Linked DNA regions of Homo sapiens: region 2 is linked to region 1. Evidence: promoter capture Hi-C in human tissues and cell types (Jung and others, 2019). All regions are on one chromosome and are shown on one strand. The core of a region is centred on a gene start or on the middle of the fragment in contact, and the rest is flanking DNA. Distances in the headings are between cores, read along the strand shown. Region 1 holds the start of GMEB2 (glucocorticoid modulatory element binding protein 2). Region 2 overlaps ZBTB46 (zinc finger and BTB domain containing 46).

Region 1 (5,521 bases), core at 2,574-5,073:
GGCTCACAGGTGAACCCCTCCAGCTGCTGGTGGGCAATTTCCCATTAGGGCATCAGGGTCTCTGAAGACTGTCTTCAGATGCTTTTTAGCCAGGAAAGTTACAATGATGAATTCGTTTACACTGGCGGAATTACTTCGTATTTCTCAAATATAATGTTTTCACTAGCATAACTTTGTTGTTGTAGACTTAGGCTTCAAAATAAAGAACTTTAAACAAACATGAATAAAAAGCCACTTTAGGCCGGGCGCGGTGGCTCACACTTGTAATCCCAGCACTTTGGGAGGCCGCGGCGGGTGGATCATAAGGTCAGAAGTTCAAAGACCAGCCTGATCAATACGGTGAAACCCCGTCTCTACTAAAAATACAAAAATTAGCCGGGCGCGGTGGCAGGTGCCTGTAATCTCAGCTACTTGGGAGGCTGAGGCAGGAGAATCGCTTGAACCTGGGCAGCAGAGGTTGCAGTGAGCCAAGATCATGCCACTGCACTCAAGCCTGGGTGACAGAGTGAGACTCTCTCTTAAAAAAAAAAAGCCACTTTAAAATTTTACTCAGGCCAGGTGTGGTGGCTCACGCCCATAATCCTAGCACTTTGGGAGGCCGAGGCGAGCAGATCACCTGAGGTCAGGAGTTAGACCAGCCTGGCCAACATGGTAAAACCTTGTCTCTACTGAAAACACAAAAATTAGCTGGGCGTGGTGGTGTGCCCATGTAATCCCAGCTACTCAGGAGGCTGAAGTGAGAGAACTGCTTGAACCCGGGAGGCAGAGGCTGCAGTGTGCCAAGACTGCACCACTACACTTCAGCCTGGGCGACAGAGCAAGACCCTGTCTCAGAAAAAAAAAAAATTCAAAAATTTGGCCAGGCGTGGTGGCTCACGCCTGTAATCCCATCACTTTGGAAGGCCGAGGCGGGTGGATCACCTGAGGTCAGGAATTCAAGACCAGCCTGGCCACCATGATGAAACCCTGTCTCTACTAAAAATACAAAAAAAAAAAAACAAATTGGCCGGGCATGGTGGCGGGTGCCTGTAATCCCACCTACTTGGGAGGCTGAGGCAGGAGAATCTCTCGAACTCCGGAGGCAGAGGTTGCAGCGAGCCAAGATTGTGCCACTGCACTCCAGCCTAGACAACAGAGCGAGACTCTGTCTCAAAAAAAAAAAAATTAAAATTAAAAAATAAAAATTTCATTTAAAATACTACTGATCTCCCGTGCTGACTTCTCGGGGTTTAACTCTCACTGAGGAGACGCTGCTTTCATAAGGGTAAGCTCAGCAGGGGCAACTAAAGTCATTTAAGCAGAGAGCTGCAAAGAGGCAACAGCCTCACTGCAGGCAGGGGTCCTCGTCACAGCTTCAGGGCTTTGCAGAGGATTACGCAATGTACACGCACAAAACTGAATTCCAGCCTCTCCATTGGCAACTGCATACATACATATATTCTTTTTTTGAGACGGAGTCTCGCTCTGTAGCCCAGGTTGGACTGCAGTGGCCCGATCTCGGCTCAATGCAAGCTCTGCCTCCCGGGTTCAAGCGATTCTCTTGCCTCAGCCTCCTGAGTAGCTGGGATTACAGGCGCCCACCACCACGCCCGGCTAATTTTTGTATTTTTAGTAGAGACGGGGTTTCACCATGTTGGCCAGGACAGTCTCGATCTCCTGACCTCGTGATCCGCCCGCCTCTGCCTCCCAAAGTGCTGGGATTACAGGCGTGAGCCACTGAGCCTGGCCTCCAATGGCAACTATATTAAAGGTTCAAAGCAATATGCACAAAAGTTACCTCACAGAAAATAGTGCAAGTCCTTGATACAATGCTCTTTAGACACAGAAGAAGCACTATAGAATAGAGCACCTCGCCCTATTGCCTTCCCAAGGGCGAGCACCCCCTCCTCTCTCCACAGCTCCTTCTTTGTTTTTTTGAGATGGAGTCTCGCTCTGTCACCCAGGCTGGAGTGCAATGGCAAAATCTTGGCTCACTGCAACCTCCGCCTCCCGGGTTGAAGTGATTCTCCTGCCTCAGCCTCCCGAGTAGCTGGGACTACAGGCACCCAACACGCCTAGCTAATTTTTGCATTTTTGGTAGAGACGGGGTTTCATCATGTTGGCCAGGCTGGTCTCGAACTCCTGACCTCCAGTGATCCTCCCACCTTGACCTCCCATAGTGCTGGGATTATAGGTGTGAGCCACTACACCTGGCCTCTCCACAGCCCCTTCTGTGTTGAAGCCAAGACCCACCCAGCTTTGATCCCAAGGCTTGGGTTCCCCACTAGTGTGAAGTGAGTTTCCAAATTATTAGGTAAATCAGATATGAGAAAATATTTTATTTTACTTTTTTTTTTTTGAGACGCAATCTTGCTCCGTCACCCAGGCTGGAGTGCAATGGCACCATCTCCACTCACTGCAACCTCTGCCTTCTGGGTTCAAGCAATTCTCCTGCCTCAGCCTCCCAACTAGCTGGGATTACAAGTGCACACCACCACGCCCGGCTAACTTTTGTATTTTTAGTAGAGACAGGGTTTCACCGTGTTAGCCAGGCTGCTCTCAAACTCCTGACCTCATGATCCGCCCACGTCGGGCTCCCAAAGTGGTGGGATTACAGGTGTGAGCCATCACACCTGGCCCAAGAAAATATTTTTAAACTAGTATTCTTGACCGGCACGGTCAACACTGATGTAATTGAAACTGTTGTATTTGAAGTGTTAGCAAAGAAAGAGAATTCTGGTTCAACAGAAAAGTCAGTCACGACTTTTCAGTCACGCATGAATTACACAGTAACCAAATAGATAACATGCCATGACTGACGACGGGCCCACAACAAATCAGCTCCGACCAACAGGGTCCACACCACCATGGGTCTACACAGATCCAGGTCCCGCCTGTGAGCCTACAGTGACGCGGGCCCCTGTGGGGTGGTCCCTGCAGGTCAGGTCCCTGAGAGTGGGTCCCAGTGGGGTGATCCCTGCGGGTCGCGTCCCTGCGAGTTGGGTGCCTGCCGGGTGGCCCCTGCGGGTCGGGTGCCTGCGGGGTGGTCCCTATGGGTCGCGTCCCTGCGGGTCGGGTGCCTGCGGGGTGGCCCCTGGGAATCGCGTCCCTGCGGGTCGGGTGCCTGCGGGGTGGCCCCTGGGGATCGCGTCCCTGCGGGTCGGGTGCCTGCGGGGTGGCCCCTGGGGATCGCGTCCCTGCGGGTCGGGTGCCTGCGGGGTGGTCCTTGTGGGTCGCGTCCCTGTGGGGTGGTCCCTGTGGGTCGCGTCCCTGTGGGGTGGCCCCTGCGGGTCGCGTGGTGGCCCCTGCGGGTCGGGTGCCTGCGGGGTGGTCCCTGTGGGTCGCGTCCCTGCGGGTCGGGTGCCTGCGGGGTGGTCCCTGCGGGTCGCACCCCTGCGGCGTGGTCCCCCCGGGATGGGTCCACCGAGGAGGCCGCTGGAGGCCGAGCCCGCGCCCGCCCGCGGCGCCAAGATGGAGGCAGGAAGCGCCGCCGCCCGCGCCCGCCACCGCCCGCGCCGCCCGCCTGACGCCGCCGTTGCGCCTGACGCCGCCGCCCGCGCGGCCGCCCCTCCCCCGGCCCTCCCCTCCCCCCGCCGTAACGTCCTGACGCTCCGCAGGGACCCCTGACTGGACGGCGGCGCGTGAGCGGAGCGAGAGGCCTCGCCGCGGGGGGGCCGCGGGCTCGCCGGCGCCGCTTACCTGGGGCCGCGCCGGGCCTGCTTAGGCACCCGGCGGGGGCGGCGGCGTCGGGAGCTGCGGCGGCGGCGGGCGGCGGCGGCGGCCGCGGGCTTCGCTCCTTGTTGGGGATTCGGCGGCGGCGGCGGCGCGGGCGCGCGCTTCCTAGTGACGCAGGCGGCGGGGCCGCGCACGCACGGGGCTGGGAGGGCCGGACACTTATTTGGCGCTCGCGGAGGAGGAAGGCGGGGCCGTGAAATAAGGCCCGACGGGCCCCGGGGCGCGTGCGCGGACCGACACTGTCAGCTCCTAACGCCGCAGGTTCCTCCTGGTCCCCGAGGCCCCCGGTCGGGCGTTGCCTGCCCCGCGCGGGCGGCCGGGCCGAGGGACGATGGTCAGTGGACGGACGGCGCCAGGGAGCAGTGCCCACGCGCGGCAGGGCGGTACCTTCAGGCCTCCAGGTACGGGCGCTCCTCGCCCGGACGCTGCTGTGTGTGAATGGGCGCGAGGGGACTCCCCTGCGGGGCGGACGCCTGAACACGAGGCTGTGGAGGAGGACGCTGTAGGGTGCGCGGACTCACGCGGAACATGCCAGAGGCTCAGCCAGCCACGGCGCTCCCAGCGTGGAGGGCGAGGGGCATCCGGGAGCGGCCGGGAGGGCTCGGTCACCCCTCAAGCTGTCACCCCAGTCCCACAACCAGCACCCCGATCCTATCGCAGTCCCACAGCCGACACCCCGATCCCACCCCTGCCCAACAGCCGGCACCCACCCCAATCCCATAGCTAACACCCCGGTCCCACCGCTGTCCCACGGCCGGCACCCCGATCCCACCCCAGTCCCGCAGCTGGCACCCCGATCCCACCCCAGCCCAACAGCTGGCACCCACCCCGATCCCACCGCTGTCCCACAGCCGGCACCCCGATCCCACCCCAGTCCCGCAGCCGGCACCCCGATCCCACAGCCGGCACTCACCCCGATCGCATAGCATAGCTGATACCCCGATCCCACCCCAGTCCCATAGCCAGCACCCCGATCCCACCCCAGTCCCATAGCCAGCACCTCGATCCCATAGATGACACCCCGATCCCGCCCCAGTCCTATAGCCCGCACCCCGATCCCACCCGAGTCCCGCAGCCGGCACCCCATCCCACCCATGTCCCACAGTCGGCACCCCGATCCCACTCGGATCCGGCAGCCAGCTTGGATCCTGTGGCCCTCCTCCAGCCCCCAGGGCTCATTTATATGTTTTATTGGCAGAGGCTGGGGCTGGCTCTGTTGGCCTCTGTGCTGGGTTTCTTCCTCTGCACCGCAGGACTGGCTCTCCTGACCTCTCCAGGTGTCATCGAACACCCTTGTGCTTGCTGTCACCCGCTGCCTGTCTGCAGGATCCCGGATTCCGTATCAGGGGACCGAAATTAGTCGGAAAATAGGAAGCAGGTGCTCGCTTGGATGGAACCCTGACCCTGTGCTCACACTTGTAGGAGGAGGGCTCTGCAGGCCGCCTCCCGGAACGGGAGGTTCCCAAGCCACTGCACTTCGGAGGGGCTGTAATTAGAGTTGCACATTCATTCAGTTCCCAGTAAAGTAGAACGTGCTCCAGCCAGTGAGGAAAAGGTGTTTTTAAAAATTAGATTGGCCGAGTGCGGTGGCTCATGCCTTTTACCTCAACACTTTGGGAGACAAAGGTGGGAGGATCACCTGTGGCCAGGAGTTCAAGACCAGCCTGGGCAACAGAGCCTGTCTCTGGGGAAGAATAAAAAAAAAAATTGAGCCTTTGTCAGTGCTACTATTTTATTATCTGGTAAATATGAGAGGGTTCACGCGGTCTATGTGTGTCATTTATCTGAGTTTGCCTATCGTCACGTT
Region 2 (5,279 bases), core at 782-3,281, 160 kb after region 1:
AGCCTGGGCGACAGAATGATACTCCGTCTCAAAAAAAAAGGATCCTCCTGAAGAGACACTGTTAAATGAAAAAAGGAGGCCATGCACAGTGGCTCACGCCTGTAATCCCAACATTTTGGGAGGCCAAGGCGGGTGGATCATGAGGTCAGGAGTTCAAGACCAGCCTGACCAACATGGTGAAACCCCATCTCTACTAAAAAAAAAAAAAAAAATACAAAAATTAGCTGGGCGCGGTGGCGGGTGCCTGTAATCCCAGCTATTCAGGAGGCTGAGGCAAGAGAATGGCGTGAACCCAGGAGGCAGAGTTTGCAGTGAGCCAAGATGGTGCCACTGCACTCCAGCCTGGGTGGCAGAGCAAGACTCTGCCTCAAAAAAAAAAAAAAAAAAAAAAAGAAAGAAAAAAGGAGCCAAAGGCCAAGAGAAAATATTTTCAAAGCACATACTTGATGAAGGACTTGGAACGAGAACACCTAGGAACTCTCACCACTCAGTAATAAAAGATGGGCAGAAGATCTGAACAGACACTTCCCCAAGGAAGAGACCCAGATGTGGAGCAGGTGCCCGATGCTCATCACCGCCAGCTGAGCCACGACACTCACTCGGCCAGAGCCTCACGGTCACCACGTAGACAGCCCAATCGAAACACGGCAAAAAGACCTGGACAGACACTTTACCAAAAAAGATATATGAATGGCATCATCCGCCATCAAAGAAATGCAAATCAAAGACCATAGAGAAGCCAGGTGTGGCGTCTCACGTCTGTCATGCCAGCACTGTAGGAGGCCGAGGCAGGCGGATCACCTGAGGTCAGGAGTTCGAGACCAGCCTGGCCAACACGGCCAAACCCCGTCTCTACTAAAAATACAAAAAATCAGCCAGGGGTGGTGCTGGGTGATTGTAATCCCAGGTACTCGGGAGGCTGAGGCAGGAGAATTGCTTGAACCTAGGAGGCAGAGGTTGTAGTGAGCCAAGATCGTGCCATTGCACTCCAGCCTGGACAACAGAGCGAGACTCTGTCAAAAAAAAAATAGAGGCCGGGCGCGGTGGCTCACGCCTGTAATCCCAGCACTTTAGGAGGCTGAGGTGGGCAGATCACAAGGTCAGGAGATCGAGACCATCCTGACTAACACGGTGAAACCTCGTCTCTACTAAAAATACAAAAAAAATTAGCCAGGCGTGGTGGTGGGTGCCTGTAGTCTCAGCTACTCAGGAGGCTGAGGCAGGAGAATGGCATGAACCGGGGAGGCGGAGCTTGCAGTGAGCCGAGATGGCGCCACTGCACTCAGGCCTGGGTGAAAGAGCAAGACTCCGTCTCAAAAAAAAAAAAAAGAAAAGAGGCGTGGCGATTTTCACCAAAATCCCCGGCTACTGTATGCAAACCCCCAGTGGTGAGCCAATGACTCCTGCAGAGACGCCCAGGCTGCAACCCCCGAGCCGTGGTTTTGCCACCTTGTGGCAGAACGACTCCGCAGACCTGATTCGGTTCAGGATCTCACGATGAGTCCTGGATGAGCCACGTGGGCCCTAAACGGACCCACCAGGGCCCCGTCAGCAGAGAAGGAGGCAGGAGGGTGACAGAAGCGAGGATGGGAAGGGGCAGGAATGATGTCGGGCCACGAGCCAAGGATGCTATGGCTTCCAGAAGCCAGAAGAGGCACATGGACTCCCCTGGAGCTCCAGGGGATGCAGCCCTGCCGGCTGCTTCAGACTTCAGAGAACCGTGAGACAAAACGTGCATTGCTCTGACAATAAGTCTGGTCATTTATTACAGCAGCCATCAGGAGCCAGGTGCTTGCCAAAAGCACAAAAGCCACAAAAGACACCTGCAGGAGAGCCTCACAGCCCTGAGCCTGACACCCAAACGCCCACATCCAGACAACCACAGAACAGGCTGCAGCCACGCCCCATGCCCCACGACCCACGCCCCACACCCACAGGTGAGGAGCAGTGTTGCTGCTGGCTGCGGCCGTGAGTCCCTCCCACACCAGGACAAGGAGCAAAGCCAGAGATGCAAGGACACCCTGCCGAGTGGCTGCGTTAAAAGTTCAGTTGGCCAGGCAGTGGCTCACACCTGTGATCCCAGCACCATGGGAGGCCCAGGCGGGAGGATCGCTAAGCCCAGGAGTTTGAGACTGGCCTGGGCAACATAGTGAGATCCCGTCTCCCGTCATAGTGAGATCTACATCTCTATAAAAAACATTTTTAAAAATTAGCCAGGCGTGGTGGCGCACGCCCATAGTCCCAGCTACTCAGGAGGCTGAGGTGGGAGGATCACCTGAGCCCAGGAGGTTGAGGCTGCCGTGAGCCGAGATTGTACCACTGCACTCCAGCCTGGGCAAGAGAGTGAGACCTTGTCTTAAAAAAAACAAAAAACACAGCTGGGCGTGGTGGTTCATGCCTGTAATCCCAGCACTTTGGGAGGCTGAGGTGGGTGGATCACAAGTTCAAGAGATTGAGACCAGCCTGGCCAACATGGCAAAACCCCGTCTCTACTAAAAATACAAAATATCAGCTGGGCGTGGTGGCACGTGCCTGTAGTCCCAGCTACTCGGGAGGCTGAGGCAGGAGAATCACTTGAACCCGAGAGGCAGAGATTGCAGTGAGCCGAGATCGCGCCATTGCACTCCAGCCTGGCGACCGAGCGAGACTCCGTCTCAAAACAAAAACAAAAACAAAAAATACTCTGTCCAGTGCCGAGTGCAGAATTTTTTTAAAAATAAAACAAAAACAAAAAACAGCACGTTCCTGTGAAGGGTGTTATTGTCTCTGTCCCCGTCACCAGCTGCTCCCCAACAGACTGTAATGTGATCAAAGCTGATTGCAGGTAATTCTGTTCATACCTGAAAGCAAAAACATCTAGAGAAGGCGCAGCTGAGTTCTCAAGCTTCCCAGGACAGGACTGAACAGGGGAGTGGATTAAAAGAGGCCAAGCCAAGCATCTCCCGAGCAGCTGTGGGATCGGGGTGCGGAGCCGGACGCCCTTCCCACCCCACTACTGACCAAAGCACATGATGTCATCTTTTGGTTGAAACCCTTCCACCCAAAAAATAAAAAGACCATCCCAAGTGCAGGAAATTTTCTTCAACAGAACAATCAGATCTGCCGTGCTGCTGAAACAGGCTGTGAAAGGTGTTCAGGAGGCGAAACATTGTTCAGGAGGCCAGGTGGGGGAACCTCACATTCCGTCGGGCACCAGGAGGGCCGAGATGCCACGCACACTCAGGACAGGAGTCCCTGCAGGGACGTAACCTCAGAGGTAACTCCCTGCCCTCGTGTGATCAGGACGGCTGAGACCGTGGTGGGGGTCCTCCTCCCCAACCTTCGTGGAGAGAAAGAGGGAACACCAGAAGGGGACACAGCCACGGCCCCCTCCGCTCACCAGTTCCTGCTTTATCCCCAGCAAAGAGCTCTGGGGGCGGTGAGGAGCTGCTGTCAGCACAAGGGAGAGAAACCCTGAGACCCGCCGGAGGCAGGCCGGCCTGGTCCAAGAAGCAGCTCGAAGACCACCCTACCCTGAGAGCTGGGACCCTCACTCCCCTCCCGGAGCAGACAGGAGGCTTGCAGGCAGTGCTAGGCACCCGAGAGGCCATTGTCCCCCATCTGGAGCTCCCGCAGTTCTGATGTACGCTTAAAAATCCCAACATGTCAAGCTCCCACCTCACCAGGGTTCAAGTACACACTTCACAGAACACACAGATCCTCCTGTAGCAGCACCGCTTAGGCATGTGTGGGGCCATTTAGTTGGGGCACCTGGGCTGTTTCTTTACCATCTTCTCATGCAGTAGCTACACATCCACTTTGTCAAGGCCTCACCAGTCACCTCTCAGGTCCTTACTGTGCTCCCTCCGCAGATGAGAAGGAGACGCCAGGGCCTGGGGAGGCACGGGCCTGCCTGCCTGCCCCATAGCTGCAAACATGAATCTGAACATTTTAATGCTATTTCCCACAAGCTCTCATAGAAGTGAACTGCTGTAACTCAGAAATAAATTTCAAGGGATACTGTTTCTTGGAAGCTGCTCAGTTAGAATGAATTTGGCCTCCCTGCCTAGAAAATCACTCTTAAAAGCAAACAGGCCTCAGGGTCACCAGGGGCCGGGATGATGCACAGAGGGGTTGGGGCATCGGCGTCGAATGATCCACGGTGACCACTTGACATGTGTCCTTAGAAAAGAGACTTTGTGGCCGGGCGTGGTGGCTCACGCCTGTCATCCCAGCACTTTGGGAGGCCGAGGCAGGCGGATCACGAGGTCAAGAGATCGAGACCGTCCTGGCCAACATGGTGAAACCCCGTCTCTACTAAAAATACAAAAATTAGCCGGGCGTGGTGGTGGGCACCTGTAGTCCCAGCTACTCGGGAGGCTGAGGCAGGAGAATGATGTGAACCTGGGAGGTGGAGGTTGCGGTGAGCTGAGATTGCACCACTGCACTCCAGCCCGGCAACAGAGCGAGACTCAAAAAAAAAAAAAAAGAAAAGAAAAGAAAAAGAAAGAAGGAAAAGGGACTTTGTGGCCCGGCACACTGGCTCACGCCTGTAATCCCAGCACTTTGGGAGGCTGAGGCGGGCGGACCGCTTGAGGTCAGGAGTTCGAGACAAGCCTGGCCAATATGGTGAAACCCCGTCTCTACTAAAAATACAGAAATTAGCCGGGCGTGGTCACGGGAGCCTGTAATCCCAGCTACTCGGAGGCTGAGGCAGGAGAATCACTTGAACCCAGGAAGCGGAGGCTGCAGTGAGTCGAGATCACACCACCGCACTCCAGCCTGGGTGACAGTGACGCTCTGTCTCAAAAATAAAAAAAATTTAAAAAAGGGCCTTTGCTTCTATAAATGGGATGAAAATTAAAAATCCTCTTCTCTAAGATAGAATAAATCTTTAATGGAAACAAACTGACCTCCATGGGATCATGATCTACTTCCAAACCCCAAGCTTCCAAATCCCAGCCTGAGGGCTCAGACGGAGGACGCAGCTCAGGGAGTCACTGGCCGCCACAGCGTGGGCAGAACCATCCTCCATCCTCACACAGCTCACAGCCTTGTGTCCTCATCTTAGCAACTCGGAATAATCTAATGGAAGAGTTTCACAGTTGCCTTGGAAACCCAAGGGATTTAAGACTCTAACAAAAGTACACAGCCAAAATCACTTGTTGGATTCTAAAAACACCTTCTGCTCGACAACTGCATTTAAAGCATTCAGCCCACAGGCTTAAGGAGTGCACTATTTCTCAGTGCCTGCATCGACTCTCATAATACAAAGGCCTCCAGCACGGGCACCTGCCAGC

The links. The method cuts DNA at HindIII sites, captures the fragments that hold promoters and counts their contacts. A contact is called where the count stands out against the background at its distance.
Region 2: a contact is called between a fragment that was not itself captured here and the fragment with the promoter of GMEB2 in region 1, in 2 of the 25 tissues and cell types used here (dorsolateral prefrontal cortex and spleen).

The regions. Positions count from the first base shown.
Region 1 is chr20:63,623,278-63,628,798 of GRCh38, forward strand. It overlaps GMEB2 (glucocorticoid modulatory element binding protein 2), which reads right to left and starts at 3,824. Exons shown (of 10, transcript NM_012384.5): 1 at 3,679-3,824. MHENCR (melanoma highly expressed competing endogenous lncRNA for miR-425 and miR-489) reads left to right here and starts at 3,958. Exons shown (of 2, transcript NR_132417.1): 1 at 3,958-4,115; 2 at 4,913-5,521. RefSeq lists silencers at 3,186-3,725, 3,816-4,265. The HindIII fragment of the contact is 46,766 bases long and covers 1-5,521 here.
Region 2 is chr20:63,780,772-63,786,050 of GRCh38, forward strand. The region is part of intron 2 of ZBTB46 (zinc finger and BTB domain containing 46); the gene reads right to left. Among named protein-coding and RNA genes, the nearest start is that of ZBTB46-AS1, 25 kb to the right of the region's middle. RefSeq lists an enhancer at 1,569-1,628. The HindIII fragment of the contact is 3,748 bases long and covers 158-3,905 here.